Linked DNA regions of Homo sapiens: all the other regions are linked to region 3. The links are contacts of gene promoters, found by promoter capture Hi-C in blood cells and fetal thymus (Javierre and others, 2016). All regions are on one chromosome and are shown on one strand. Each heading gives the region's core, a stretch centred on a gene start or on the middle of the fragment in contact. The rest is flanking DNA. Distances are from core to core; before and after follow the strand shown. Region 1 overlaps PDLIM5 (PDZ and LIM domain 5). Region 2 overlaps PDLIM5 (PDZ and LIM domain 5). Region 3 holds the start of HPGDS (hematopoietic prostaglandin D synthase).

The links. Contacts are between HindIII fragments. The CHiCAGO score rates a contact against its expected background, and 5 or more counts as called.
Region 1: a contact is called between a fragment that was not itself captured here and the fragment with the promoter of HPGDS in region 3, in 1 of 17 cell types (M2 macrophages). The highest score is 5.3, in M2 macrophages.
Region 2: a contact is called between a fragment that was not itself captured here and the fragment with the promoter of HPGDS in region 3, in 3 of 17 cell types (M0 macrophages, M1 macrophages and megakaryocytes). The highest score is 7.1, in M0 macrophages.

The regions. Positions count from the first base shown.
Region 1 is chr4:94,624,431-94,627,723 of GRCh38, reverse strand. The region is part of intron 8 of PDLIM5 (PDZ and LIM domain 5); the gene reads right to left. Among named protein-coding and RNA genes, the nearest start is that of BMPR1B-DT, 130 kb to the left of the region's middle. The HindIII fragment of the contact is 869 bases long and covers 994-1,862 here.
Region 2 is chr4:94,600,994-94,604,714 of GRCh38, reverse strand. The region is part of intron 7 of PDLIM5 (PDZ and LIM domain 5); the gene reads right to left. Among named protein-coding and RNA genes, the nearest start is that of PDLIM5, 150 kb to the right of the region's middle. The HindIII fragment of the contact is 5,985 bases long and covers 1-3,721 here.
Region 3 is chr4:94,341,401-94,344,666 of GRCh38, reverse strand. HPGDS (hematopoietic prostaglandin D synthase) reads left to right here and starts at 1,831. Exons shown (of 6, transcript NM_014485.3): 1 at 1,831-1,872. The HindIII fragment of the contact is 10,951 bases long and covers 1-3,266 here.

The DNA of each region.
Region 1 (3,293 bases), core at 179-2,678, 280 kb before region 3:
AGAGCCAGAGAATAAATATTTTAGGCTTTGTGGGCCTTACAGACTCTTGCAATATTCAACTCTGCCATTGTGGCATGAAATCAGCCATAAACAATACGTAAACAACCGTACCGTAGCTGTTTTCCAACAAAACTTCATTCACAAAAATCAGTGGTGGGCCAGATGTGACCAAGGAACACCATTTGCCAAACTTTGGTTTAAACCATATGCATCAATTAATAGAACAATTCTTTATGAAAAGCATATATGAACAAATGTAGATGTCTGCCTTATAAAAAGTTTAATATTTTAATCTCAGAAAGAGAAGAAAATGGGGAGAAAGAACAGCTTTCACAGATGAAGCCTTGCATCAGCACTGGAAAGCTTCCAACACGCAAATAAATTTCAATGAAGGAACAATTAGAAGAAAAAGAAAACAGGCAATTAATGGTTGTTACTTTTATTTTTTCCTGAGAATCAGAAACAAAAATCTACTTGTTATGTAAGGAGATGGGCATATTTACATGTTTCACACCCCAGTTTTGACAATGGACAGCTCCAGTCAGGGCTTTACGGCAAGAGGGCTGTTTAGTTTAATGATGTCAAAATGCAGGGGAGCAGATGGCAATAAAACATTATTAGAAGAGATGAAATATACGCAACTGGTAGCAGTTTACTTATTCATATAAAAATTTTAAAATGGAACCAATAAATCTATCCATCTTAGCTAGGCAAATTTAGTTATCTCGATTTATTACTGTAGTGCAAAGCCTACAATGAAATTTGGGATGGTTGTAGAAACAGTAATTTCCTTTCTCACCCCTATCTCCCTTAGACTTCAAATAAAAGATAGAATTTATATCCACTTATAACTGAGATGCACATCATTCAGTCTTTGATCTAATCAAATCTCACAAATATATTTGAGTCTTTCTCACAAAAAAAAAACAAAAAAACACCGAAACAACATATCAGATCTCTCCAAAGCTCAGTCTACAATGAAGTAAACAAGCTTTTCTTTATTGCTAAATGTAGCACACACCAGAAGCGGGTATGATTAAAAAAAAAAGAAAAACACATTAACTAGAATCTTAGCCAAATGATCTAAATTTCAAAAACGGAGTTTAGATGCAAAGAAAATGTTACTTGAAACAGATCTTAGCAGTTGCCAGTCACTTGAAGCTCCCTATTATCCAAGGCAAGAATCCTTTCTATCCCATCCCTAACAGATACAGTCCTCCTTAAATACGTTCACTGATACTGTCTTTTGACTTAGGAAAATACAGTATTCAGAGTCAAAACAGCTGGGTTCAACTCACTACAGAACTCTAAACAATTCTTTTGACTTTTCTCAGACACTGCTACCTCATTAAATAATGCCTATTTAAATTTTAAATTTTAATGACATTACCTTATTGTGCATTCTTATAAAAATATCTGTTACAACTGAAAGTATTACAAAAACAATGATTACTACTAATCAATGATAGTCATCATTCTACTGTTAAATGTTAAATGTTTGTTCCTTTTAGGCCGCCCATTGTATTCATGAGTTCCCAATCCTCAAATAGGGATGGTGAAAACTCCTCAGATGGGGTACAACAGAAGCAAAAATTAACTATTCATTTTGAAAAGCAAGTTTGTGTTTTTTCCCGTTTCGTTTGATCAAAAGAAATTTATACTGTCCCCAAAAGACCTTCAAATGGTCACAACTTTTATATGTATAGCTTACTTGTATCATGCTTCTTCAAAACACAAAACAACTTATATTCTAAAAAAGAATCATAAACTTTTGTTTTTACATTCTTGTCAATTAAGAGCCTTTGTCTTTACTACATATCCAAACTGTCTCACAGAGAAAAGCAAATCACTAAGATAAAGCTTATATACATATCACCTAATTCACATAAAGGGAATGGTGCCTCAACAAGAGCATAGAGAAACTGTTATCTGTTCAATACGGACTATCAGAGGTTAAGAATGTCTAATATTGGCCGGGCGCAGTGGCTCACGTCTGTAATCCCAGCACTTTGGGAGGCCGAGGCGGGCAGATCACAAGGTCAGGAGATCGAGACCATCCTGGCTAACACGGTGAAACCCCGTCTCTACTAAAAATACAAAAACATTAGCCGGGCATGGTGGCGGGCGCCTGTAGTCCCAGCTACTTGGGGGGCTGAGGCAGGAGAATGGCGTGAACCTGGGAGGTGGAGCTTGCAGTGAGCCTAAATAGCGCCACTGCACTCCAGCCTGGGCAACACAGAGAGACTCTGTCTCAAAAAAAAAAAAAAAGTCTAATATTAAATGATAAAATACTACTGCCTTGAGTATATCGCCATAATATCATATCAACTAATATCAATATATGTTTTTATTTTCCTCAGTAGAATGCCTGCCTCCATGGACACGTTTAATAATATCCACTAATTTCTTGTCAACACCAGGGACATGAGAGTAAACAGGGCTCAACTGGGAGTTGTGTGTACACACAATTAAAGAAAGTATGAAGGTAGCATTCTAATATGCTATAAACTGAATACAATCCTCCACGGGTGTTTTAACAGAGGATACATAGGTACTCTATAGGGAGTCAAGTTCCCAGAGAGGGCAATGGTTAAAACCAGCAGCCCAGTTAGGTTAAAGTGTAAATACCCTGCAGTCACCCTGCCCAGGGAATTCTCTCCAAAACACTGCCACTGCCCAGGGCAATATTCATTATCTATCTCCAGATTGGATTACCTGAATAACTTCTTAAATGGTCTCCAGGTCTCCAACCTTAATCTCTACAATGAAGTCATGATGATCTTTTAAACACATTAATGCTATAATAATCTTTTAATAATGCAAGTCTGATTTTGCCACTTCCGGCTTATAAATGTTTTAATAGCTTCCTTTCAGCATCAAGTCCACACTCTTACATTCAAAACCCCCATTAATGCAGCCAACCTTCTCTCTGGGCCACTAGACAGTCTTAAACATACTGAACTACTTGTCTTTCCTACCCGAAGCCAAATTCTCTCAGTTTTTGCATATGTTGCTCCCTCTCCAAATCGGCCTCTTCCTAAAAATGTTCAAGGGTCGTTGACTACATGCTATTTTGTTTTAGGCACAAACATTAAAATATTGTTCCTGCATAAAATAGGACTTCACTATAAACAAATACATATTTTACCTCAAGATTGTATCCTCAGAACTTTAAGTCTTTTTCTTCCCTTTCCACTGATCCACACCTCCATGCCTCTGAACTGGGACTCATAGTTTGATTTGACTCTTCTTTGCACCTTTTTGATGATTTCTATATTATATACTGGTGTTTT
Region 2 (3,721 bases), core at 324-2,823, 260 kb before region 3:
CCCTTCCCCCTCCCCCTAGCCTGTGGTAACCAGCACCATTCTACTGTTTCTATGAAGATGACTACTTTAATTCTTTTTTTGGAGACGGAGCCTCACTCTGTCACCCAGGCTGGAGTACAGTGGCACAATCCCGGCTCACTGCAACCTCCACCTCCCTGGTTCAAACGATTCTCCTGCCTCAGCCTCCTGAATAGCTGGGACTACAGGTACGTGCCACCACGCCTGGCTAATTTTTGTGTTTTTAGTAGAGACGGGGTTTCTCCATGTTGGTCAGGCTGGTCTCGAACTCCCGACCTCCAGTGATCCGCCTGCCTTGGCCTCCCAAAGTGCTGGGATTACAGGCGTGAGCCACCACACCCAGCCCGAAGATGACTACATTAGATACCTCCTAAGCCTGACCCGAAGATGACTACATTAGATACCTCCTATCAGTGGAATCATACAATATTTGTCTTTTTGTGCACATTCCTCATTTTACTTAGTGTCTGGCTCAATTGACTACTGCTTCTCTTTTCCTGTCATTTGTGCCTCAACCCTATTTACCTGCCTGTTTTTAGTAGTATTTCACTGGCTATTCTGTTGCCCGAGAGTTCTCTGTCCTAGGCTTTATTTCTCTGTACTCTGCTATCATTAGTACAGTGACATTACTCTGTCCTGTAGCTTTAACACCACCTAATGTCCAGATTTATATCTAGCCCAGCTGTCTCCTATGAGCAGTAGCCCATATTTTGAATTGCCCTTTAGTTATTAATACCTCTAATATCTCTCTGTCTCAAATCATCTTTCACCATGTCCAAATGACTCTACTTCCAAATTTATATTTTTAATCTATCAGTGGTGTGATGGGTCCCCTACCAGGTTACTTAAGGGTGTTATATTCAATGCTTGAAACTTGAGGGCCAGGCAGTTAGCTAAGGCCATGGTGCCTAGCCGAGAAGCAGGGGTCCCTGAGAACGCAAACATCCTGAGGCATGGCTGGGAATATACCAAGGAAAAAAGTCCCAGCACACTCACACACGCGCGCGTGCGCACACACATACACGGCAAAGAGCCAGAAAATTAGCTTAAAAGCAGCCTAGAGATGGGAGGCGGTGTGGATCTCTTGGAGCCATACTGCTGCTGTCCAGCAGTGCCCTGTATGTATGTCCTAATAAACTCATCTACTCATCAAGCTGGACTTGTCTGAGTCATTCTCTTGGCAACGTCCCAGTTTTCCCAGTTTGCGGAGGGTTGGGGGGGCATTACAGTCCCAAGTTTTTCTCATTACGCCATCCATCTACCCCATTTCTCTGCTACCACCCTCTCTCATCCAGACTATGATAAGCACTAACTTATACTAGTGATTTAAGAACTGTCTAACTGCTCTCTTGCTTCCTCTCTTGCCAAATCCTGCCCCTTCCAGCCCCTGTGTTTTCTGGCATGGTTTAGTATAGCCCATGTGCCTTAAGAAAAAACAACAAAACACATTTTATCAAATCATTCTTTTGATTAAAACCTTGCAACAAATTCCTACTGCAGTTAGGATAATACCCAAAGTGCTTAACATTCTCTACAAAATCCCCAAATGACCTGTTATGATCAACCTCTCAATTATCTTTCCACACCAATTTTCCCTTTATTCACTGAACTCCAGTCACATTAGACTACCTGTACAATGTCTTGAACAAACTAAGTTCTTCCAGGATTCAGGCTCTTGGTCATTAATGATAATATTATTACTTTTACTTCATTTTTTAACTTACATGTAAATCATTTGTTAATAATAAAAGCAAATATTTTTTCATCGCTTAATATGTATCATCATATTTAATCCTTCCAATAATCTTTCAACCCTGGTACTAAAATTATCCTTGGTAATTTACTAAAGTTAGTACTTTGGTATATGGTGGAGCTACTGTACTGGCACCCATGGTTAGAATAACTTCAGTGGAATGAGGAGAACAAAAACCAGGCTGCAGGGGCCTGGTGTGGTGGCTCACACCTGCAATCCCAGCACTTTGGGAGGCCAAGGCAGGTGGATCACCTGAGGTCAGGAGTTCAAGACCAGCCTGGCCCACATGGCAAAACTCCGTCTCTACTAAAAAAAATATAAAAATTAGCTGGGTGTGGTGGTGGGTGCCTGTAATCCCAGCTACTCGGGAGGCTGAGGCAGGAGAATCACTTGAACCTGGGAGGCGGAGGTTGCAGTGAGCCAAGATCCTGCCATTGCATTCCAGCCTGGATGAGAGAGCGAAACTCCGTCTCAAAAAGAAACCAGGCTGCAGGATGGTAAAGTTCTCTATCAGTAATAAAATTTCAAAATGTTAATTTGGGTCATCCAGATTTTGATGGAATTATATGCAAACTATGTTCTAAGAAGAAATCTGTCACAAAGGCGAACCTTAAAAAAATCTTAAAAATAATGCAAACATTTTCTTTTACAACATAAAAATGGCATCTTCAATTAAAATTTTAAATGCTTCCTATTTCTGAATATAAATATGATAAAATGATCAAATAGACTAGTGACTTATTACATACCCACACGACGAGTTTTCAATAAGAGGAAAAATTCACAAACCTTGAAATATACGTTTTATTAAAAGGTAAAGGAGGAAAATGACAATAAATTGTCCTTGGTATTCTACTTCCACAAAGCAAACTTTTATGTAATAATATTGCTAAGCAGAAACTAGAATATATCAGAGTCATAGCTAGATTCTGCCCTTTTGGGGTTCACTGGCATAGCAAAGCTATTTATTTTAGCCAAGGAAACTGCTAGGCATGTGAAAAAAATAAGTATTTTCTGCTGGCTTCCTGACAATAAATATGTTGAGTTTGCTCATTTGTAACTATGATCTCCCTTCTGGAAAACTAAATCAACTAAACCTCAGGTGGGAATTTCTGGTACTCTCAATCATAAGCTATCCATTTATTAATTGGTTTTCAATAGTCTTTGTTTCTGTAGCAGCCTGAAAATGTTACTTGAGCCTGCTAATTCTACCTTTATTACATAGATGGCATCTTGAGAATTTAAAAATAAGCAAGTAGAGTTATCCTTGCTTTGCACATGGCAGACAAGGAGGACTGGATCTTAGAGGCTAAAAGGTTATGAAATAAATTATCAAACATGAAAATACTACCCAAAATGAGGTTGATTTTTTGTAAGAGCAAAGAAGGACTAACTCAAAGAAATCATTTTTCTAGGAGCTTCCCACTTACTTAAGCAAGGAAAAGATAGGCAAACAAAAAGGGATATTGCTGAAGGAATTGGAACTTATTATTTGTTGTTATACAGTGAACGTTTGTGTCCCCCCAGCCCCAAATCATATGTCAAAATCCTAACGCCCTATGTGATAGTATTAGGAGGTGAGGCCTCTGGGAGATGATTAGGTCACACAGGCAGAGAGCGCTCATGAAAGGGGTCCCTTATAAGAGATACCTCAGAGAGCTCCCTCTCTCCTACCATATGAGGATACAGTGAGAAGGCATCATCTATGAACTAAGAAGCAGTCCCTCACCAGACACTGAGTGTACAGGTACCTCGATCTTGACTTCCCAGCCTCCAGAACTATGAGAAATAACTGTTTGTTGTTTAAGCCACCCAGTCCATGATATTTTTGTTCTAGCAGCTTGATCTGACTAAGACATTTGTATTAGGGAAAGAATTTCCTCTTTGATGATATTTTCCATTTTCTCACATCTTTCAAACTATGGCTTTATAACTCTTACACATTTCTCT
Region 3 (3,266 bases), core at 582-3,081:
CCCCACCTGGGCTGGGAGAAGAGACAAGAGGATGGGAAAGCTGTGCTTCCCGAGTAGAGGAGATCTGGGACCCTCTCCTGGGACCCTCTTGTGCCTCCAGGGAGGTAGAAAGACCACAGAGAAGAAGTGGCTCTGTTGGGTACTGGGCAGGTGGAATCTCAGGCAGCGTTGTGATGAAACCACCACACTGGGGCAAGAAGGTAGCAAAATGAGAATGCTACAGGAGCTGCAGAGAGCTCCTGGCGTGGAGGCCATGCACACAAGGACAATGGATGCCTCTAGAGCAGCCTCTGTTGATCGGTGACCAAGGATCAAGTGGCTGCTCCTTCCCCAATCCTTGATGTGTTACTCTGCTTTCCTCCAGCCAAAACAACTGGTCGTAAAAGATAAAATTGTAATACAAAATGAGAAAAGTGTTATTTTTTGTATACTTGATTTTTTTTTAACTGAAGCAGTCTCGTATTATATATAGGCAGCATTATGTAAGGAAAAATATTAAATGTGTCATCAGAAGGCCTAGATTTTAATCCTAGCTTGTCCCAACAAAAATTCGCAGGCAATTTACCTAATTTCCCTATGTCTCAGTTTCCTCATTTATAAAAATAGGGATTAAAAATCATTGAGGTGAGGATAAAAAGATTTTTTTGAAAATATAAGTTAAAGCTGTCAAAGATAATAAATGCATTGTGTTAATTTTGTATAGCTCCCACTCCCATCCCATTTGCACTTGATTTTGACACACATGTATCCTTTTTTGGTGGGTAAAGGGCTACACTTGCGTCTTCTCTTTTTACATACTAGTATTTACATTTATTTTCATTTCTGACGTTTATACTAAGTGGATGTAAACATATTTTTCAAAATTAAAAGCACTTTAGAAATAAGAAATATTAAATGATTGATATGTTGCTATTGTTGCCTGTGGGAGTAATTTTCTGGAAGTTGAAAGCCAGCTGGTCATTGAAATGTTTCATGGATAATCCTCAGGCTCAGTAAGGCCCAGGCAGGCATTTTATTGGATCTTTTCACTGAGCTGTCCTAATATTATAGATAAAAATAATTCCTGCACTAAGAAGTGAAACAATAAATTTCTAAAATGTCAGGCATTTGTTACTAAATTGTAAAAGGATCACAAACAAGATGAATTGGAAACTTCTACACCAGGTTTACTTTAAACACTTTGGCTTTTCTGAGAAATGAGAGTAAATGAAATAAACCAGCAACAATGCAAATTTACAGTCCTTGCAAAAACGTGAACTATAAATTAGGGTTATTCTATCATCAGATGTATATTAGTGGTCATGACATGCCTGGCACTCCTCTTAGAACTGAGGAGACAATAGTGAAAAAGACAGTGAAGTGCCTGCCTTTACAGAGCTTACATTCCACTGGGAGAAACCAAAAACAAACAAGTTAAATACACCACATTGTTAGACACTGCCTCGAAGGAACATACAGCAGGTACAGGAGAGACTGTTTCTAAAATAGAGAAGCAAGTCATGTGCACATCTGCAAAGATGATTTCATTACATTCAGGTTTTCTTATTCTCCAGGAGCCTATGGTGTAAAACTGAAAATAAGTGAACATGTAACAGTGGGCATACATATGCAGCTATAACTTTGACTTTACCTTGTATACAAATGTGTTGGTTTATTTATACCCAGATATCCTGTATAACCAGCAGTCTTCGCAGGCTTGAACTGCCTGGCATGCATGTTTTATCTAAGAAAAGAAGGAAGAGCGTTAGGTAGAAGGAAGTTGCCTGTCCTCTCACTGGCTCGTGATTATCACTTACTCGTCATATAAACCCAAGGCACAGTCACATACCCAGGGATACAAGACACTGCAGACTCCCGAGAGACATAACACAGGTAAGTCATATTACTGAACTCCACATAGGTAATAAATGAGATATGCTTTACTCTTTACTTCAGAGTTTTTATTATTCTCATATCCTGTTTGTGACTAACTGTCTTGTGAGCTATTTTCATGATGGTGCTCACTCTGACCTTGTCTTACCCAGAACCTCTCCATATATGCGAATATGTGAAACTCAAATAGTCATTTTTAAGGAAATATAGGTACAGGAGATTTAAGAAGATCTCTTCAAGTGGATTTTAACATAGAAAATATAATCAATGCTAGAGGAAAAATCCTGTCTTAATCAGGGTTTGTTACTACTTCCAGAATTTTCCCAAGTGATTCTTCAATAACTTGGATTGATGGAGTAGAGAATATTATCTCATGGCTGTTCAATTTCTTTCCTTTGCTTTAAAGTTTAAGACTTTTACTGGTAATATTTTATATTATTTTAAGGCACATTTTGTTGAAGCATCTCCATGTTTTGATAAGAATTGCAACCTATCATCTTTTGGCTTCAGAGATGGTTTAAGGGATTTACCCCAGGCCAGGAATTTCAACTCACAGCTCCCAAAGGATATTTCAGTTATTCCTCTTGCTTTGGCTTTAATGTGAAACAGTCACTTAAAATGACATTTAGTTGATATTTGATAAAAAAAAAAAAAATAGAGCTTTCAGCTTGCTAATTCAAAGTTAAACATCCAGTGCTTGATTGAAATCAATATCTTACTCAGTCAACAACAATTCTTCTATTTCTCTATTGTCCTATAATTTAACTCCAACCTGGCAACTTTTCCAGAATTGAACTTGAAATGCCCAGGGACACTGTGAAATGAGGGAAATTAACATTCTTTACCATCAAATGTTAGGGGTAATAAAAAGCTGTTTTAATGTCAGTATATGCAAGAAGTTCCCCTGTGAACAATAGTATCTCACATGATTGCTGTCTGAATCCAATTTTTACATTTCAGAACACCAGGGTCTATATAATAGGAGTGTAAACATGCTCTAGGCCATTACATTTTGTATAAGTTTATTACTGGGCAAGTTAAGATCTGCATCTTAAACTCAAAGAAGAGCTATAGCAAATTCACAAGTAATCTTTGTTTTTATATCTCTAACTCAGATTATTGCGCAATTACTAAGCATGTAAAAAACTGTGTCTGGAATGCCCAAATATGTTTGAATTCTTGATGTGTCGTATTTAAGAGTAAGAGCTTACGTTGGCTAACATTTTGTATTGAACTGTAGAATGGTCAATACTTAATTCCTCATTTGTAAGTTTTCTATCTAACAAAATTATTCCAAAAGTTCTCTTTTTTGAACTAAAAATATTTCGGCTGAAGTCTTTATTAAGATGTTTAGTATAGGCATTGGATATTGATTAGCCTGTGTTGTCAGAGAG